Linked DNA regions of Homo sapiens: region 1 is linked to region 2. The links are contacts of gene promoters, found by promoter capture Hi-C in blood cells and fetal thymus (Javierre and others, 2016). All regions are on one chromosome and are shown on one strand. Each heading gives the region's core, a stretch centred on a gene start or on the middle of the fragment in contact. The rest is flanking DNA. Distances are from core to core; before and after follow the strand shown. Region 1 overlaps CKAP2 (cytoskeleton associated protein 2). Region 2 holds the start of NUP58 (nucleoporin 58).

The links. Contacts are between HindIII fragments. The CHiCAGO score rates a contact against its expected background, and 5 or more counts as called.
Region 1: a contact is called between a fragment that was not itself captured here and the fragment with the promoter of NUP58 in region 2, in 1 of 17 cell types (non-activated CD4 T cells). The highest score is 6.2, in non-activated CD4 T cells.

What each region holds. Positions count from the first base shown.
Region 1 is chr13:52,455,532-52,462,676 of GRCh38, reverse strand. It overlaps CKAP2 (cytoskeleton associated protein 2), which reads right to left. Exons shown (of 9, transcript NM_018204.5): 1 at 7,051-7,145; 2 at 6,070-6,154; 3 at 1,703-1,778; 4 at 751-1,619; 5 at 110-314. The coding sequence starts at 7,120. Among named protein-coding and RNA genes, the nearest start is that of CKAP2, 3.6 kb to the right of the region's middle. The HindIII fragment of the contact is 1,098 bases long and covers 5,347-6,444 here.
Region 2 is chr13:25,300,270-25,307,374 of GRCh38, reverse strand. It overlaps NUP58 (nucleoporin 58), which reads right to left and starts at 5,750. Exons shown (of 16, transcript NM_014089.4): 1 at 5,495-5,750. The coding sequence starts at 5,601. RefSeq lists enhancers at 5,455-5,504, 5,615-5,694, 5,855-6,094. The HindIII fragment of the contact is 2,784 bases long and covers 5,019-7,105 here.

The sequences.
Region 1 (7,145 bases), core at 4,646-7,145, about 27 Mb before region 2:
TATCACCAACATCACCTGGTCAAAAAGACTGACAATATAATTTAATGAAATAATGCTTATGAAGGTAATTTGCAAACTATAAAATGCTAAGCAAATATAAAGACTCTACCTCATTAATCAAGTTCAGGCATTCAGAAAATGTGTTGTTTACTTTTTCAGTAAATAATCTTTGTTCATCTTCTTCTGCCATGGTAGTCCAAAAAGACCCAACTGGTTTTTCATTTTGTCCTGCAGGCTCATGCTGAGTAACTACTGAATTAGGGGGCCTTTTTAGCACTCTTCCTTTGCCAGCTTTCCACTCACTCAGACGAGCTCTATAGTTAGAAGCAGATATAAACGTTACTTTGAAATTGCTGACAGAACTCTGTCAAATAAAGTTAAAAGAAAAAATCATATTTTTAAGTAATCTTACTTTAATGGCATATATAGTTCACAAGCTTGAAGAAATATTAAACATATCAACGTCAATTATGCTCAATGATTCCATGAATGCATTTTTTGATTTGAGATTATAAAGTATTTCCCAATTATTATTAAGCATTTACCTTAGATTTTAAAAAGCAACCTTATAAAACATACTCAAACACAAAAACTTTTAGGTCATATTGTTCCACAATATAAATTTGCCTGCATATGACAGAAGAGAAACCATGAAAGAAAATTCTAATGCAGTCAAGGAAATTATAATCCAAATCTACAAACAGTACTTTATTGAAAACTAATGTAATAAAGAAAATTATATCTACTTACTTTCTCTCTTCCGAGGTTTCTTTGGGCTGAGCTGATCTACTATCAACAATTGCTTTTCCTGCAGTATGTCTTCGCTGGTCAACGGGCTCTGACTTTTCCATCAGTTTATCATTAGACAATGAAGCAGGCCTGGCTATAACTTCAGATGCTATGGATCTTGATAGAGTCTTATTTCTTATTATACCTTGAGAAGAACTGGTTTTGACACTAGATAAAGCTGTTTTTGATTGTAATAGTTCTTTTTCATGAGGCCCTTTCCGGATTGTAACATTGGCAGAAGTTCTACTGATGCCTTGTTTCACAGTGTCCCGGGTATTACTGTGATGACTTCTAATAGGAGGTCGCACAAGTTGTGTGTTCTGAGATGTAGTGCTCACAAATTTAGTAGTGGCAGTCATATTGGAGGATCTATTACTTTTCACTGTTACACTGCTGGTGTTTACAGGCTGAGGTTTTGTGGCTTTAGGTATAGTGGCTGAAAGTTTCTTTGTTGCTGCAGAACTCTCATCTTTGACTTGTAGAGGTTTTCTAAATGAATTAATCTTAGACTGAACAATCTGGCCACGATAAGATCCAAGCACAGGTTTCTTGGGCATGTTAGCATCTTGCTTTTGTTTTTCTGTAGTCATTTGTTTCTTTTTACTATTGTTTTTAAGGTGAAATGCCTGGCTTAATGTCATATGTTGACTTTGGGGATCATCTTCAGTTAGTAACAAATGCGGAGTTTGATTACTATCCTTAGGTTTATGTGTGTCAATTACTACAGTTGAATTGGTTAGTTCATTTGAAGGTTTTAAAGGAATACAATGTTTCCCCACCACTGTATTATTTTTGCTCTCTGCAGGTCTCTTCATGTTTTCTTTATCAGCCTGAAAGAATTATTTAAGAAAAGTGTTTAGGAAAGGCAAAATGGAAAAGGGGACAGTTTAAGAGTGCTATGTCCACATCTTACCATTTTTGTTTTAAGTTTCAGCACTTTAGTCCCTTCTTGAACTTGGTCCTCAGATGTCACAACTCTCTGATCTCTACTACTTAAAAACAAACAAACAAAATGATCAATCAATCCTGTACCAAGGAGGCTTCCTTTTGGGGAGGAAGAAGAGGGCAATGTTAACAATTAACTGACTTACTAATTTTAAATTTAAAAAAGACCTGAGTTGAAATTTGTCCTAAGCGGCCAGGCGCGGTGGCTCATGCCTGTAATCCCAGCACTTTGGGAGGCCGAGGTGGGCAGATCACGAGGTCAGGAGATCGAGACCATCCTGACTAACACAGTGAAACCCCGTCTCTACTAAAAATACAAAAAATTAGCCGGGCATGGTGGCGGGCGCTTGTAGTCCTGTAGTCCCAGCTACTAGGGAGGCTGAGGAAGGAGAATGGCATGAACCCGGGAGGCGGAGTTCGCAGTGAGCCAAGATCGAGCCACTGCACTCCAGCCTGGGTGACAGAGAGAGACTCTGTCTCAAAAAAAAATAGTGTAAACAAATGGCTGAGGAATTTAAAGATATTTTCTAAAAGTCCTAACACTCTCTGCCCATAGAATTTGTAAATACTTAATAATCTTATTTCAAATCATTCTCAAGTCATTCAAACAAGTCTTCAAATAACCTTTAGTAAGTAATACCTCCTTGGGTTAGTTTTAAGTACTTAGTAACAGATGTACTACATTGAAAATACTTTTATTAAAGAGCCCTCCCAGAAGTGATCCAAAAATTACCATATGCCATTCACAGCTTAATTTATATTAGGATACATTAAGAATATGCACTGCTGGTTGTGGTGGCTCATGCCTGTAATAGCAGCACTTTGGGAGGCCGAGGTGGGGGGATTACTTGAGCTCAGGAGTTCGAGAGCAGCCTGGGCAACACGGCAAAACCCCATCTCTACAAAAAAATAAAAAATTAGTTGGGTGTGGTGGTGGGTGCCATAGTCCCAGCTACTTGGGAGGCTGGGGTGGAGGACTGCTTGAGCCTGGGAGTTGAGGCAGTGGGCCAAGATCCCGTCACTGCACTAGAGGCTGAGTGACACAGAATGAGATCATCTCTCAAAAAAAAGAACGTTAGTTTCTAGGCGGTATTGCAAAGAAAATCCCTCCTCAAGAAACTGACTTAACTTATTTTTACAGCTATAAACTGGCTAAGGCAGACTGTGAGCATCTCTTAGCAAGTGATTTTAACAATTTTGTGTACTATAACGATAGGAAAAAATACGGTCAATTAGACATGCCATTGATTTTAAGACAGATCCTAAGTTCAGAGATCACATTAAAATGCGTGATCTCTCATTCTCTGAAAAAAAAAATGAGGCCAGGAACAGTGGGTCACACCTGTAATCCTAGCACTCTGGGTAGAGAAGGTGGGCAGATCACCTCAGGTCAGGAGTTTGAGACCAGCCTGGCCAACACGGCGAAACCCTGTCTCTACTAAAATCAAAAATATTGGCCAGGCATGGTGGCAAATGCTTGTAATCCCAGCTACCCTGGAGGCTGAGGCAGGAGAATCGCTTGAACCCACGAGGCAGAGGTTGCAGTGAGCTGAGATCGCGCCACTGCACTATAGCCTAGGCGACAGAGCAAGGCTCCGTCTCAAAAAAACAAAACAAAACAAAATATATATATATATATTTTACATTTGACATAATTTAGTAGTTAATAATTTTGCTTACATTGCCTTTCATATCTATTTGTTCTGTCAGCTTGGAGAAGGAACAGAACTTTGACACAACCTGTACTATACATTTTGAACAATGGTGAAGGAAGATCAAAATGTGCCACTTAACAGGGTATCTTAGTAGCTAACTGCCAGCTAACAAAACAAAACTCAGGATGACAAGAAGAACCCATCTTACTCACCTGTCCAGTGGGGAGACTTAATCCTATTCTGTCTTATTATAAAACTGCCCTCAGAAGGGTTATCGGAAATGAGTCTTAGGATATCTATACTTTAGAGATTGTAAAATATAACTGTTTAATTCTGAAAAGCTGCAACACAGGTTGGTTGTCTTATTTAATGATTCACTGCTGAGGTGATAACATTTAAATTGACATCTGTTTTCCTTTTTTTTTTTTTTGAGACAAAGTCTCGCTCTTGTCACCCAGGCTGGAGTGCGATGGCCTGATCTTGGCTCACTGCAACCTCCGCCTCCCAGGTTCAAGCGATTCTTCTGCCTCGGCCCTCCCCGGAATTACAGGCGCCTGACACCACACCCGGCTAATTTTTATATTTTTAGTAGAGACGGGGTTTCACCATGTTGGCCAGGCTGGTCTAGAACTCTTGACCTCAAGTGATACACCCGCCTCAGCCTCCCAAAGTGCTGGGATTACAGGCATGAGCCACTGCACCCAGCCAACATCTGTTTTCTGAAAGGAATAAATGTAGTACTTAAGCCACATGAAGCGTTTTAGAATTTTCTTTTCTTCCTATTAAGAGTATTATAAACCCCTGACCTTGTTGGATTCTTTATTTAAATAAGTGGTTGAGAGTCACTGTCTGAATCCATATTATCTCTACTTATTCCCTAGTAATTTCATTCCATCCTAAGGTTTTTAAGTAAATATCATCTGTATACTAATCAATTCCTGAGTTTATGCTTCCAGCCCCAACCCCTCCCCTGAACTTCAGACACACAATTATTTGGCATATCTGCTTGGATGTCTGGTTGGTACCTCAAACATAGTCAAAACAGAACTCCTAATTCCCCAGCTCCTCCTTCAGGCTTCCTATTTCAGTATACGGTTATCACCATTCATTTACTTATTCAAATAAAAAACCTAGGATCACCTTTTTGTCTTAAACAAAGAAATAAAAGATTTATTTGTGAAGGATAAACTGTTTATTCCAAACTAAAGCAACTTATTAATATAAAGTTAGAAATTATTTTTAAAATTTTAGAATGCCAAACTTACACAAAGTTGCAAAAATATAAACAGGTCAAAGAATATCTGTACACTCTTTACCCAGGATCCACCTATTGTTAAAATTTTTATCCCATTTGCGTTATCATTTCCACTCTCTGAATATGTGTGTGGGTGGTATATACAATTTTGTTTACCTGAGACAATTTTTTTTTTTTTTGAGACGGAGTCTCGCTCTGTCACCCAGGCTGGAGTGCAATGGCACGATCTCGGCTCACTGCAACCTCCATCTCCCAGGTTCAAGCGATTCTCCTGCCTCAGCCTCCCCAGTAGCTGGGATTACAAGCACCCACCACCATGCCTGGCTAATTTTTTGTATTTTTAGTAGAGACGGGGTTTCACTGTGTTAGCCAGGCTGGTCTTGATCTCCTGACCTCGTGATCTGCCCACCTCAGCCTCCTAAAGTGCTGGGATTACAGGTGTAAGCCACAGCACCCAGCCTAAGCCTGTAAGGATGTTATTACTGGTTATCCCTAGAGAGTGAGGGGACCTTTTGCCTTTCTGCTTCATCTACTTTCATGGGTTTTTGTTTTTGCTACAGCTATGTACTATCTAAGATATTTTAACAAAATAATAAAGATATTTCTGTGGAGGGTTGAGACTACAACTAGTAATCTCTAAGCATTTGGGAGGGCCACCCAACCCTTCCCTGATGAACTCCCCCATACACTGAGTAAAAAGCTTTGCTAAATAATAGAAAGACTGACCTTTGTGTGGTGTAAACAGTAAGTTGATAATCTAGTCTATGCACATACTTTGCTTTATAATTGTTTTTTTCTCTTAGACTGTGAATTAATTTACGTAGAAAACGATAATCTAGGCCGGGCGCGGTGGCTCATCCTTGTAATCACAGCACTTTCAGAGGCTGAGGTGGGCGGATCTCAAGGTCAGGAGTCCAAGACCAGCCCGGCCAACATAGTGAAACCCGGTCTCTGTTTAAAATACAAAAATTAGCAGGGAATGGTGGCACTTGCCTGTAGTCAGTCCCAGGTATTTGGGAAGCTGAGGCAGGAGATTCACTTGAACCCAGAAGGTGGAGGCTGCAGTGAGCCAAGATCACGCTACTGCACTCCAACCTGGCAACAGAGTGAGACTCTGTCTCAAAAAAAAAAAAATTAATAAAACGATGATCTAATGCTGCACCATCCAATAAAGTAGCCACTAGCCAATGTGGCTACTGAGTGCTTGAAATGTGGATAGACCAAATGGAAATGTCCTGTAACTGTAAAATAGACACCAGATTTTAAAGACGTTGTACCACAAAAAGACGTAAAATAATATGTAAGCAGTTTTTCTAAATGTGGCTACTAGAAAATTTAAAATTACAGATATGGCTTACTTTACATTTTCATTGGACAGATCTGATACAATTTTACAGAAGTGAAAAGAAATAAACTTGACCTTACCTGGATAACATCTCATTTTCCTGCTTGTATGCAAAAAGCGTTTTTCTTCTCAACAGATGTTCCTTGAGTTTTTGTCTTCTTTGCTCTAGATAACAAAGGTAAGAGCTACAAGTCAATATTAGTTAAAACATCGATAACGGCAAATAAATCTTGTTGACTAAATGAAGAGTTTACTTCCAAAGCTGGTTCCACCTGAGGTCACATCTATATAACAGAAAATTCTCCAATTCAATATTGCCTTTGAGAAATCACCTTAGAAGAGACTGTTACCACAACAGGTCCCCAAAACCCCTCTGCATAAGAATCACATTCTCTACTCCCTGTGAAAAATCTGGAGAACATCATTTTCTACATACAGCTCCTGCTAGCCAAGCTTTAAGAAACTAAATGGTAGAAGTGAGGCACTAGACTCGAAAGTTCTAATTTACCAGAACTGGGTTAGATGAGAATTACTTTCTTCTGCTTTCCCGTGTGTAGAATAAGGGAATAACAATATTAGTTTTGAAGACCCAACCAACCCTCGGTTTCCATAAAGTCGAAGGAGAAGCTGTGAAATTGGAAATAACACATGATGCGACCCCAGCCCTGCAGAAATTCGCTAGGGACCTAAGAGGCGGAGGACCCAGCGCAGGCGCAGTCGGTCCCTGAACCTGTGCAGCCCCGCCCCCAAGCGGACCCAGGGTCTCCGACACCGACCCCGGCCTGAGGCCCGCGCGTTTCCCCTCGCCTAACGGATTCCTTCTTAGGAGGGCCCATCCCAGCCAGCAGCGACCGCACAGTAACACCACGCAGCGGTTCCTGTTTTTATGATCCGTTCCACAAGGCCAAGAATGAGGCAGGGCGAGGCCGACGCCGCGTTCAGGGATCTCACAGAGCGGGGGAGAGGTGAAGCGCGCCAGCGCGGCCCCGAGCCCCGACCGCCGGGCCCGCGCCCGCCACCGCCACCGCCACCGCCACCGCCACCGCCACCGCGGCCTTCACCTTTGAATGCGGACTGCGCCCTCTGACTCGGGGGCAGCTGCAGGTCCTGGGGCACGGCCGGTGTGCTCATCGTAGCCTCGGGTCGGGGGATGCGT
Region 2 (7,105 bases), core at 4,501-7,000:
GTGTGGTGGTGGCACACGCCTGTAATTCCAGCTACTCAGGAGGCTGAGGCAGGAGAATTGCTTGAACCCGGGAGGCAGGTCGCAGTCAGCTGAGATAGTGTCACTGCACTCCAGTTTGAGTGACAGAGCGAGACTCCCTCTCAAAAAAAAAAAAAAAAAAAAATACAATACCAGATTTCAAGAAAAGCAGTCTACAGCAATAAGGATTCCAGATCTCAAGGTAATCATAAGTAGGGATCACAATTATTCTGCTTTCACCAATGTTTGAAACCTAGCATATTTTTAAATGGTCATAGAAAAGTTATTTTAAATTATCTTCACTAGCTTTCCATTGCTACATTACCACATTCATGGGGCAATGTGGTGTTGGGGAGAGTATAGACTTAGGTATTTTACCACCAAAAAAAGCATAGAAAAACTAGTGGGGACATTTCCTGGCAAAAGTTAAACGCAAAGCAAAATCACCCTGTCTCAGGATCATGTATTCATTAACAGAAACTCTTCAGAGCACAGTGCAAAGCTTAAAAAAAGAACAGCTGATAAAAACAAGTGAAAGTGAACAAACTTCACAACTTTTCAACTACTCTTATCAAGACTCAGGGGTTCAGATTTGCTATGAAAAGGTGGGAAGACAAACTGTGAAAATAAGCAAATTTTGACAAGTTGACACTTCCAAAATTATGTAGGAGATTTAAGGGAGACTATACAGCATAATGGCAAATTCTCTTTATCCTACATATTTATCTTTATTATTTCCTTTGCTGCCCTTCCATAAAGAATAATCACCATGGGAGAACCCAATGTCATTTTTAAAGTCTCAAAAGCCCTGGCAGCAGTAGTGTGGCTGGGTTCCAGTACCAATCCCCCCATGTTCTGGTACTTGTGTGCCATTACTTAACCTTTCTGAGCCTCTATTTCCTCATCTGCAAAACAGGAATTAACAGTACCCACTTAGCAGATTTTTTTTTTTTTTTTTTTTTTGAGACGGAGTCTCACTCTGTTGCCCAGGCTGGAGTGCAGTGGCACTCCGCAAGCTCCGGCTCCCGGGTTCACCCCATTCTCCTACCTCAGCCTCCGGAGTAGCTCAGACTATAGGTGCCTGCCACCACACCCAGCTAATTTTTTGTATTTTTACTAGAGACAGGGTTTCACCATGTTAGCCAGGATGGTCTCAATCTCCTGACCTCGTGATCCACCTGCCTCGGCCTCCCAAAGTGCTGGGATTACAGGCGTGAGCCACCGCACCCGGCCAGCAGAATTTTTTTTTAAATATAAGGGTTCAGAGCACAGGATGAATTAACTTCAATAAATGTTGTTATGACTGTTATCATTAGGGATACTTATAAATTTAACTAAACATATTATGTACAAGGCGTTATGCCAGGAATAGCAAGGGAGCAGAAAGATGTCCCCTAGTCAAGGAACATGCCGTTTACCAGGGGGATAAACAACACAAATAACTGTACTCCAAGCCAGAAGAGTTCTCCAAGTTACTTGGGTCCGGGTGTCTTCAATTTCATAATCAGCTTAAGAAGCCACTCAAATTTTTGCAAACACTGGGAGACAAGGAGGAAAAGAAATACTCAAGCAGGAGATAATTCAAGCAGTAGAAATGTACACACCTTCAGTAAGTTTAGAATTACTATAAGTAAGATTATAATCAAGTACCAAACGATGGCAAAGAGATACTGCAGAAGTTTGAGGCAAAGAGCTAATCACTGTGAGGGGAATGGAGGTGGAGGAGCTTATTAAGGGTAGAACTTGAGATGTGCCATCCATACTGAGTAGGTAAAAGGAGAAGTACTGATTTTTAAAATGTGTTTGTGTGCACCTTGGGCATATGAAGGCGAGGCAGGAGACAAAGCAGGGCGGTAAGCTCTCGCTAACAATTAAAACACAGATCTTGACCAGGCCGGGTGGCTCACACCTGTAATCCCAGCACTTTGGGAGGTTGAGGTAGGCAGACTGCTTGAGCCCAGAAGCTTGAGCCCAGCCTGGGCCACATGGTGAAACTCTCTCTACCGAAAAAACAACAACAAAAAACTTCCAAAAAACAAAAATTAGCCAGGCGTGCCAATGCACACCTGAATGTAATCCCAGCTACTCAGGAAGCTGAGGTGGAAAGATCACTTTAGCCCAGGAGGTGGAGGTTGTAGCGGGCTGAGATTGCGCCACTGCATTCCAGCCTGGGAGACAGGGCAAGGCCCTGTCTCAAAAAAAAAAAAAAAAAAAAAAAAAAAAAAACCCCACAGATCTTTAAACATTTAGTCTTAATTTAAAAGGTATTTTTAACAACATATTGCTACAATCAAAACTAAGTGAGATCACACACACAGAAACCTAAGTGAGCGCTACAAGCAAAAGAATATAGTATGTAATGGCTATATCCAGACAACATAGGTAGTACAACCATAAAAGGGGCATATATGCCAAAACATTTAGCTTAGCTGGTAGTAGTCTGATCGTATTGTTATTTTGACACTGTTGTGTGTATAATGTGGAGTAGGGTAAATGAGTATTTGGGGGATACTAAAACATTACTGCCGGCTGGGTGTGGTGGCTCACGCCTGTAATCCCAGCACCTTGGGATGCCAAGGTGGATGGATCACCTGAAGTCAGGAGTTTGAGACCAGCCTGGCCAACATGGTGAAACCCCATCTCTACTAAAAATACCAAAAATAAAAATAAAAAATTTAGCCGGGTGTGGTGGCGTGCCTGTAATCCCAGCTATTTGGGAGGCTGAGGCAGGAGAATTGCTTGAACCCGTAAGGTGGAGGTTGCAATGAGCCAAGATCACGCCATTGCACTCCAGGCTGGGTAACAAGAGTGAGACTGTCTTAAAAAAAAAAAAAAATACATATATATATATATATATATATATATATATATATATATAATCTTGACAACATAACTGAAGACATTATGAAGTATTACATAATGAAAGTTGAAAATACTGCCAAAGAAACACATCAAAATGAAATTTTTCTCTACCACAAAAGCAAGAGAGAAATTTTGGTGGCAGTGAAATTTACTAAATTCAAGAAAAGCAAAAGCTACCCTAAACTTGACCAATTATTGCCTCAAACCAATGTTATCTGCCAAGGACTTGATAGGATGTACTGTAGAAAAGCCAACTTGACTCAATCACATCTGGAATGTTATTTTAACTTGCCCAGCTTGCCCTAATGCAGACTTGGTAGCTAACATAATAGCTAAGATTTACTGAGCACTTAGCAAGTGCCAGACTTGATGCTAAATATTTAAATACTTCATCTCACTCATCAACTCAGGTAATATATTATACTCCTTTTCCAGATGTGAGAACTCCCCTAAAATGACCAACCTCAAGACATCAAATCACTAGGTGGCACTAGGGGCTGTCAGGCCTCCCAACCAGCACTCTAACAAATTTATGTCGGACAGTCTCCTCTTTCATTAATTTATCCAAGCCTCTCTAAAACTTGGGTAATTTTTTATAGCTTATTACTAATAACTCATTTGCTCAGTCATTCAAATTGTTATTAAAGCCCTTTTTCTATGCCAGGCACTGTCCTTGGGACTGACAATGAGGTGGGAAATTAAGACTCAGACCTTGCCCTCAGGCAGTTTCTAGTCAGTGAGAGACATAGGTATTAATTATTCTAGTGCTGAGATCTGACAACAAACAAGTTAACAATAAATATAACAAACTGATTACAATTGTGATCAGCACTCTAAGAGTACTAGGAGAATGGAAATCTCCCCTAGACTGACAGGTCAGAAAAGGCCTCTCTGGGGAAGAGACCATTTGATATTTGCAAGGAAGGGGCTGGCAAAGCCCACTTGAAAAGAGAAAAGGCCATGTTGCTAGGACAGGCTTTCTAAGATCAGGACCATGAGAGAAATATAAAAATTAATTCATCAAGTCATAAGCAACATTAAAAAAAAAAAGAAATAGAAAATATCAAAGTGCATCCCATGAAGTAAGGGTATCTTTCTCTGAAACTTCATTTCAGTTATTTAGGGTGGTAGTTGTGTGTTTGTTTTTAACAGTGGGTCTGCATAGCTAAAATAAAAAGATGGGCTCAAGATGAGTCCCGCTCAAGATGAGTCCCCAGAGGTTCCAGCAGAAGTGGACCTTGCAGACTATGGTAAGTTTTTTTTTCTTTTTTAAACTTCATTCTAACGATGGCGGGTAATGATTAAAGAGAGAGCAATGGGAATTTTGTTTTTCAATTACTCTGGCTAAAATGTGGCAGAACAGATTGAAGAAGTTGATTGGAGTAGTTTTCATCTAAAACAAGAAAGACAGCTGGTTAAAAATCTGACAAGAATCAAAATTATTTTCATAAGAATGTAAGGATCAAGAGAGCAAGACTCTTAATACCTAAAACAGAGCCTTGCACATGGGAATCTGTCCAATAAATATTTGTTCCACGAATGACAATAGCCTAAGCAGGGTTGTGGAACTGGAAATAAAGACAAACAGAAATGGCAGAAGTAACATTATCAGAACCTGTTGTTGAGCGAGTAGAGTAAGAATAACGGAGGTATGGATGAAAATTCAAATTTCTGAATTGACTGTGTAGTCCGTGGTTCCTCCTCCCTCCCTTTTTAAACTGCAGGTCATGCTTAAGTATTTGCCTTTTAAATCTACAGCCACATCTTTTAAGCTTCAGGAAGTATCTTGTTGACAGTGTGCACACTCCTTAACTTTATGAACCCCTCCACCTTTATCTTAAAAAAAATTGAGTTCTAAAGCTTAAATCTCTCATTAAAATGTCTCACCACTTTGTTTCTTTCTGGATAGTTATGTTTTTGTCGCCACCTGAACTAATGGGTTGCACAAAAACAAGGAACATGCTACCTACGTTTTGTAATTTAAGTAAAAGACAAATTGAGTTATTACAACACAACATTCTCGCATCAGATATACTAATCTGCACATACTGCAGAAAATTACCACTAATAAACACTGTAAAAAAGTGTTTTTGTTTTTTTTAACAAAAACAGATAAGGTCCCATGTGGCACAAAAGCTTGAAAAGCTGGTTAAAAACCACAAAGTTATTAAAACACCGTCATATCCAAAACCGCAAATGCTGCAATGAAATCGGAATTATCTATCATAAAACTCCACAGTATGCTATAATTTCATTCATTCATTCAATGTTCATTCTATGCCTAAGACTGACACATCGCTAAAGCTCCGGGGTAGACCCCAAGGCCCTTCCACGCAGTCAAGACCCCACTAGGTCCAAATAATGCCTGAACTATACGTGGATTCTGGAAACCTCACAGCACAGAACCCATCCCGCCCTCCACTTCACCAGGCCGCGCTGGGCCCGGGTACCGCGGCGAGAGGCCTACGACGCCGGGCGGCTAGATTAAGTGCTTCTCTCCAGCCCCACTGGGAAGGAAGCCAGAGGGAAGAGACAGGATGGGGACACCAAGGGAGCTTTGCGGGGGTGGGGGTGGGGGTGAATCCGGCCCAGGAAGGCGAGAAAGTGCGGTTACCTAGACGCTCCCGTTCCGAAGGAGAAAACGCCGCCTGTGCTGGTCCCGCCGGCGGCCACGGTGGTGGAGCCCAGAGTCCCGGACCCGAAGGAGAACCCTGTGGACATGTCTGGCCAGGGCTCGACGCCGTCAGCAAGGCGAAATGGGTCTGGGACACTTCTCTCGCCTCAAAGCCGAGGCGGGCCGGGCAGCATCTCTCTCGCCCGGCACGGACCTGGCGGGAACTTCCAGCCCCAACGGCGGCGAAGGCAAGGCTGAGGGGGTGGAGCAACCACGCAAAAGTACGCCCGGCGCTCGCCGCGCGCACGTAGCCCGCCGGAAGTGTAACCGTCACGCAATGAGCCCTGGTACGTGAGTGGGGGACGGCGAGCCGCGCAAGGTACGCTGGGACCAGGCGAGAATAGGCGTACTGCCTAATCTCTTAAAGGAGTAGGCTCCCAGAGTTTAAAAACAGTAAAACCATTTCTGTCATTTTTTAGTTCTTCTATCGTAGCATCTGTACTGACATAATCCGCACTTTAGGGTGATGAATGTCAATTGCTACTTCTATCTAGCCTCCTGCCAAAATTGATGCTCAGAATCGCAGAATCGGGGAGGTCCCTCCTGAGCATCTCTAAGCTCCCCACTCAGAAAAGGAGGCGGCTTCGGGCTTTCGTTGGCTGCCGCCCCATCCCTAAGAAGGAAGGGGAGCGTGTCTGCTTCCTGAAGGTTCGGAAATCAATCGAAAATAATCCATGCAACCGTCCCACGACGTGAGCCCCACCCCTGCGCCCCAGGCCTCGCGGAGCCAGTTGGTCGCAGTTGTTGCGAGCCCGACGCCCAGCCCCGAAGGGGGCCCAGAAGAGCGTCCCAGGCGTCCGTGGGGTGGCCGGCTGTGGTCCTGGCGCCCAGAAGTGGCCAGGCCCGCTGGATTTCCTGGGATGCGGTCAAGTCCACAAATACTGTCCGTGCATCCTGATGCTGGAGGGCGGGACCTTGGGCCGAGCGAGTGTGGCTCCGCCAGAAGGGCCCTCGGACACAACCGGTGCTGGAGGAACTACAAAGTGGAAGGATTAGGAAACGCACAGGAACATGTACGAAAGAAGGCGAAATGTGAGGTGTAACTTACATTTCTAGGATAACTCAAGAAAAATTCGCGTTTAAAGAGAACCTCTCTGGCGAAGCATCAGGAAAGGCTTCCTGGTGGTGGTGCATTCGAGGGTTGTCATCATAGTGTTAGTTTTTATTTTTCCCTCAGGGATTGTTACATTACTCCCCCAAATGGTTTTCCTACTCGTGATCTCTAACAAAATCCATCCCATAAGCAACCCCCGGATTTATGATCTAAAAAGCCCAGTGGCTCTTTAGTTTGGCACTTGATGACCTCCGTATGATTAGTCTTTCTAACCTCATCTCACAGTTCTCCCTAATTCAGTACTTTAATCTTCCGTTGAGCTTGGGCATTGCCACCAGCTGTGGACTGAACTATTTCCCTCCTCCCCCAATCCATATGTTAAAGCCCTACCCCACCCCAATATGTTGGTATTTGGAGATGGAGCCTTTGGGAGGTAATTCAATTTAGATGAGGTCACCTTGGTGGGTCGCCCATGGCGAGATTAGTGCCCTTATGAG